Regions from separate parts of the Homo sapiens genome. Here region 1 is linked to region 2. Evidence: promoter capture Hi-C in 16 types of primary human blood cells and fetal thymus (Javierre and others, 2016). All regions are on one chromosome and are shown on one strand. The core of a region is centred on a gene start or on the middle of the fragment in contact, and the rest is flanking DNA. Distances in the headings are between cores, read along the strand shown. Region 1 holds the start of MACROH2A1 (macroH2A.1 histone). Region 2 overlaps SLC25A48 (solute carrier family 25 member 48).

Region 1 (2,975 bases), core at 288-2,787, 480 kb before region 2:
TCTAGTTAAATGTGTACAATGGGTATTAATTCCAGTTGCAGGCAAGAGGTGTCCATTTCAGAGTTAACACCTCTGACAACAGGCTAGTAGCCTAAAGGTGGCCTGCAGTAGGTGAATTCCACCTAATTTACAACTCGAGTCTCCCATTCAAACCTAAGACTGTTAAAAAATGCCCGACTCCCTGGAGCAGGGAGCTTTGGAACAAAACACTTCCCTTACCCCCTACTTTAACGGTAAAACCTCAAACCACAAAGGTGGAAGAAAAGAGGGAAGCTAGCAGGAGTGCCCCCTCTAATTGTCTATTCTTATGTGCTGTTTACTGGGTCATTAAAATCTTACAAGGCCTTTATAGTCATTGTAATTGTTGAATTCAAGGTTTGTCCCAGTTGTTTGTACAGAAGTCTCTCACTTTGAAACTCAGAAACATTTCCCCTAACATCTTGTCTAAAAGAACCTTTCAAGCAATGTACTGACCAACTCCTTGAGTGATCTGTGGCCCCTGCAGGAGTGGGGGTAGGGAGCGCCATGTCGCACACCTGTTGTCAGGTGACACTGCCAGCAGCATCCTGCACACTCACCTCCCCACTCCACCCCACCCCCAGCGAGGCTCTTTCCTGCTGGCCTTCTCCACCCGGGGAAGCCTACAGCCTTCCGGAGTTACCTTTTAAAAAAAGCAAACCCTTCCTACCACAAAGCAAACAAAAGGCTGATACCGAGACAATCGGGAGCAGCGGGGGTTCCCGTGGCCCCTCTCCAGCCCATCCTTGGACCACTCCCCAACCCGGTCCCCCGCACCAGCCCGGCTTCAATCCCGCGAGTAGCCCCCGCCTTCCCCTCCCTGCAGATAGCGAGCCAGACGCCTACACCTCGGCCCCCCGGGGCTCGGGCCCGACTTATTGTGCCGGGGCCGGCAACTCGCGGGCCGGCGGGGGCCTCACCAAGTACAACTCTGCTCACAGCAGCTCCCGGGTGCCCAGGCCCAGACTGCCTAGCCAGCGCCGCGGGGCCTCCTGCGGCCTCGGGCCTGGCCCGTGAGCCCGCCCCAGGAAGGGTCGCCAGGGTAGGCGCCAGCACCGCTTTTTTCCCACAAAAGCGCCCAGGCGCGGGCAGGGGGATGCGTTTCGAAGAGAAGTTGGTTTCCAGGTTTCTTTTTTGAACAAAACCAAAGGGAATCCCGCGCGGCCCGACAAGGCCTGGGAGGACGTAGTGCACGCGCGAGGACCCGGCGTGGGCCACACCGAACCCGGCGGCCCGAGCCCGGCCCGCACCACACCGGTGCGCGCCAGGCCGGGCCGCTCCCGGGCACCCGCGGCCGGACCCGAGCGGCGGGGACAGGGAGTGCGGCAAGGGGGCCCGCGCGGCACTTACGCGGCGGCTCGGTGGCGGCGGCGGCAGCTGCAAGGTGTCTCGGCCTGAGCCCTCCTGGCCGCTCGCGCCTTTTCTCTCCGCGCTCCTCGCTGGCCCGCCCGCCTCTTCGCTTCCCGCCCGCGCGGCCCGCGCTCTCCCCCTCCGCCCGGCGCCGCTGCCGAGTGAACTGGAACCAGTCCTCGCGGCCGGCTTCCCACAATGCACAGCGCGCCGCTCGTCACATCCCTTCGCGGCCCCGAGCGTCCGGCCTCCGCGCCCGTGCCGCCCGGCGCCCCGGCCTTGACCCCGGGCCCGCGCCCTACCCGTTGACGCCGGCCGCTCTGCGCCCAGGCACCAGCCCGCACCCCGGACGCGAGGTCTGACCCATGACCCCGGGGACGCCCAGAGCCCAGTCCTTGGGAAGGGCCAGGCCCCTGGAGAGGAGCTTCTTCAGGGCGCGTCCCAGACTCTGCGTCTCGAGTGAACGCCTACTGTGTGCCTGGCTCTGAGCACGGGACTGTCGCTGCCACGGCATCTTTAGGAACCTTCCCACTAACCCAGTGGGAAGGCACAATGGCTGTTACCAGCGATCGCTCTTCCCTCCCCAGTCAATGCCAACTCCCCCCTGCCCCGCCTCAGAGACCCCGCTGTCTTTAGATACAGGCCACCGCCAAGCCCTGGTCTGCCCCAAGATCAATTACTGCGCACCCGGTTCCCCTGGGGTCCTTCAGTTAATCCTCCTCACCCCGAAGTCTGGAACCTGCCTTGCACATGGAAGCGGTTAGCTACTTCGCTTCAGCAAAAGTTCACTTTCGGACCCAAGTTGGGAATTACTAATGTAGACAGTGATTCCTTATCATCACACACGTTTTTTAAAAACTGCGGACAGGCCGAAAGAGGAGGAGCCGCCACAAAGCCCGCCACGTCTTCCTAAATTGGTTTACCGCCTGAAGGCATTGGTGCCCCATCCCGGGTACTTAAATGGGGGCCTGCCCTCTACTCCCCTCCCTCCAAAGTGTGGAGCCGGAAGCCACTTCTCCATCCAGCTGTGAACTAAATTTGGATAATAATACACATCCCTCAGGGTTGATGTGAAGTTTAAAGTGCCGCTACTGGGGATTATGGAGGTAATTAGAGACCCCCACCCCCACCCCCCAGTCCTCAGGCTGCGCGGGAATCGCAGCGGCAGTAACCTCCACCTCACCGGGATGCTTTACACCTTACTTTAAGAGTTTGCAAAACAATGTCCAATACCTGCCATTCATGCATTCGTTAATTCGATTAAGTACTGAGAACGTATTTTGTGTCATACATCGATTTGGGTGCTGGATATGAAACAGCCAAGAGAACAGGCAGAAATCTCTGCCCTCCTGTAGTTTGCAGTCTCGTGGGGGAAAGACAGACAAACGGGAGAATGTGTCAGAGGGTCTCCATGGGGTGGAGAAAAATAAGGCGGAGAAGGGGAATAGGAAGTGTGAGATAAGAGTGAGGCTCAAATACAAGAGAAGGCCTCTATGAGAAAGTAACATTTAAAGCCTGAAGAAATTGAGGGAGCAAGCCGTGTGGATGTCTGGGGAAGAACTGCGCCGAGCATGAGGAATAGCAAGTGCAAAGGCTGGGGTAGGAGT
Region 2 (3,223 bases), core at 59-2,558:
CAGTTTCTCCCAGAATGATCATCCCTTCCATGAAGGGCGGGGCATTTGTGGGTTAATACAAAAAGCACTCCATTCAATATGTAACCCATAGGGAAGAGTTAACCATTTCTCATTTGCATTAGTATTATCAGTGTTGATTTTTTTAGCACCGGTATTACCCTGGAGCTCTGAGTCTTTTCTCACATGGCTGCCCCACCCCAGGCCCTGCCAGATGAATCTGCCCCATCCTTCCAGGCCCAGTGCAGTCCGCTGCCATTCCCAGGATCCATGTCCTTGGCTTGCTTCTCCTGTACCTCTCTCAAGGGGCTTCTCACACACCACCACGGGCAACAGCTATTTCTATACTGCCCCTTCTCTGCCTCTTACAGCAAGTTTTCTGACGTCCTGTTTTACTCTCTCCCCCAACTTGGGAAAGATCCAGAGTTGGATGACCCAGTGTTGAGGTAAATAACTAACATGCCACATGAGAGGGACAAGATCCAAAAGCTAGATCAAAGGGCCACACTAAAAGACAGAACTACCAGAAGTCACTGTAAAGTCCAGCCCTTAGTATTCAATCATGGATCAATCATCTCTGTAGAGGATGGGGCAATCCGATTTGATGAAGGCTTCTAGGGAAAAATGCCTAAGGGCTTTAGTTTTCAAATGCTTATTTTTAGAGCACCTAGTATGTGGTAGGCACAGTTCTAGGAGCTGGGGACAGAGCAGTAAGCAAAAGAGAAAAAGCCCATTCTCTGATCAGCTAATGTTGGCAGTGAGCGAACAGTGAGACCTGTCCTAAGGTTGCATTAATAGAAGTACAGTGGGTAGAATAAGGGAGGTGGAGGCCTCTGCCCTGACCAGATTGCAGCTGGAATGTTGCATCCACCTTTGGTCACTACCCATTAAGCAAGACCCTAGTGGTGCCCTGGGAATGAAGAGCAGGATATCATAGCATGTGAGGAGAAGCTGGACCCTGGTTAGTATAAGAAGATGTGATACGGAGGAAACTTGAGTTCTGTCTTTATGTTTTAAGGATGGAGAAACTCAAAGCTTTCCTATTCTCATTATTTTAAATTCCTTTTTTAAATTTTTAACAAGAGCTGCTCTGACAGAAGGGTGAAGCCCAGCCCTGGTGCGGCCTCAATTGTCTTTTGTATCTTTTTTTTCTTCTTCTTTTTTTTTTTTTTTTTTTTTTTTTTTTTTAGCAGAAATACAGTTTGTGATTCAGCCAATGAGTATAGAGGGATATAAAAGTGTTTCAAGTGGATGATTCATTTTTATTTGAGATGTTTTTGTCTACTTCCCCAAATATTAATGTGTCATAATTCGTAAAAAGTCTGTAGAGGCAAAATATATTGCTGATATTATTTCCTCTGAAAATTACTGTGCTCTTTTAAAAAAATGAAGTCCTGGAAGTCAGCTGAGGTCAGACGATTGGTTTCTTAATCTCGATAGCGTTTGGTCCTCACTGTTGGTTCAGAGACAGGTTTTAAGTCAAGATAATAATACTCAGCTTGAGTAACCACTGCATGATCAGACGGTTCAAGGTTAATTGTTTAAAATTTGTATTAATCAGTCAAAAATTGGTAATGTATGAACATAGGAAGCTTCCAAAACTACATGAGGATATACTATCTCGATGCCCTGCCTGTGGTCCCTGTCCTCGCTCAAAGGCAATTACCGTAAAGTTTCTTGTGATACATTTCAAAAACATTTACAGTGTATAAAAGAATATATGTGTATGTACATATCTATGTATGCTTGTATATGTGACTGTTTACTTATGAACATAAATAGTAACATAAACAAAAATAATCACACCATCTAAAACAATCAGGTTGTCTCAAAGGCAGTTTTCTGGCAGCCGCAGCAGGAGAAGGTAGAGAGGATTCCTCCAGTGCCCCAGGGGTGGCTCCAGTTCCCAGTTGGCTTGGGCTCTGGCTGAATGGAGCACCCCTCCCCAAGCATTCTTGACTGTGGCTCGCAGAGATAGAGTGCAAGGCCCAAAGCCCATCATCATTCCAATCTGTTCTCACCTTGCTATGGAGGAAGAAGTTTGTGACAGGAAAGAGTTAGAAAGGCATTAATAATGACGATGGTGACCAATTTGAGTAGCTCTTTGTAACCAACTTAGGAATGATCAGTGGTGCAGCCTTTGTGGTGGGGAAAATCAAAAGTCCATGGACTTGTCGAGGCATCCCCAAGTAGAAACAGAAGGAAAGTCTGGTAGTTTTGGAGCCATTCTCTGCCCACTGTTAGGGTCGTCTTGGGCTACATGGACCATAGCTCTGACTTGGAGAGTTGCCATCTGAAATAACCAGGCTGGTGAGCACCTTGGTAATCTTGGCTCCAAGGAAGCAGCTGCTGTGGAGGGGCTGTGGCAGTGAGATGAGGCTGAATGGCAGACAGAGGGGGCATTTGTAGGTAGACAGCTTCTGGAGGCACCAGGGCCAGCTGCCCTGGGTTGCTGTCCCTGGGGAATCTGGAGCCTTCCTGTCACTCCAGGAAACCTGAACTGCAGGCACCAGGACTCTTTCAGTTCAGACGCTCTTCCTTTGTCACGTCCAAAATTCATTTATTCATTCATTCATTTACTCATCCATCCATCCATTCACTGATTCAATTAATGTGTTTATGGAAGGTCTACTCTGGGCGAAGCGCTCGCAGGTGCTGGGGTCTCAGAGGCAAACCATCCACACAGCCCTGCATTCACTGCCCTGATTGTGATTGCTAATCCCACCCCCACCTCTGTTATCTGTCCTTCCTGACAGATAAGTCAGTGACACTTGGAGAACAGTGTGAGGAGTGCTGTGATGGGGAGATACCAAGTGCACAGAAGGTGAGGGGCCATCATCCACCTGGGGGTGGCCATGGGGACACTGCCAGGCTGCAAGCCAGGCCTGGGAAGCACTCCAGGCAGAGGGGACCAGAAGAGGCCCAGTGGAGGAAAAAGGCTGGCCCCTTAAGGGAATGACAGGCTGTTAACCTTCCCAGAGTGTCAGCTGTGAGAGGCCGTCCAGAGAAAGTGCAAGGGAGAGCATGTGGGTCGTTGCAAGCCAGGAAAGAGTGACCCTAGGCCATAGGGAGACATTGAGGCTTTGTAGGGTGGGAGTGAGGGGGGACTCGGTCTGGAGGTCATATGCTCTGAAAGCTCTGGGTAAAAGCTGGCAGGTCTGCATTTTGTTTGCCTTCTGTGGGCTCTGCAGCAGAGCAGGCCACAGCTGCTGGAGGGTGAGCTGTC

Evidence for each region. Contacts are between HindIII fragments. The CHiCAGO score rates a contact against its expected background, and 5 or more counts as called.
Region 1: the fragment with the promoter of MACROH2A1 here is called in contact with a fragment that was not itself captured in region 2 in 1 of 17 cell types (M2 macrophages); the score reaches 5.9 in M2 macrophages.

What each region holds. Positions count from the first base shown.
Region 1 is chr5:135,397,694-135,400,668 of GRCh38, forward strand. It overlaps MACROH2A1 (macroH2A.1 histone), which reads right to left and starts at 1,538. Exons shown (of 9, transcript NM_138610.3): 1 at 1,369-1,538. RefSeq lists silencers at 874-933, 1,244-1,413, 1,424-1,883 and enhancers at 1,784-2,289, 2,290-2,795. The HindIII fragment of the contact is 9,460 bases long and covers 1-2,975 here.
Region 2 is chr5:135,874,977-135,878,199 of GRCh38, forward strand. The region is part of intron 6 of SLC25A48 (solute carrier family 25 member 48); the gene reads left to right. Among named protein-coding and RNA genes, the nearest start is that of IL9, 19 kb to the right of the region's middle. RefSeq lists an enhancer at 2,582-3,083. The HindIII fragment of the contact is 557 bases long and covers 1,031-1,587 here.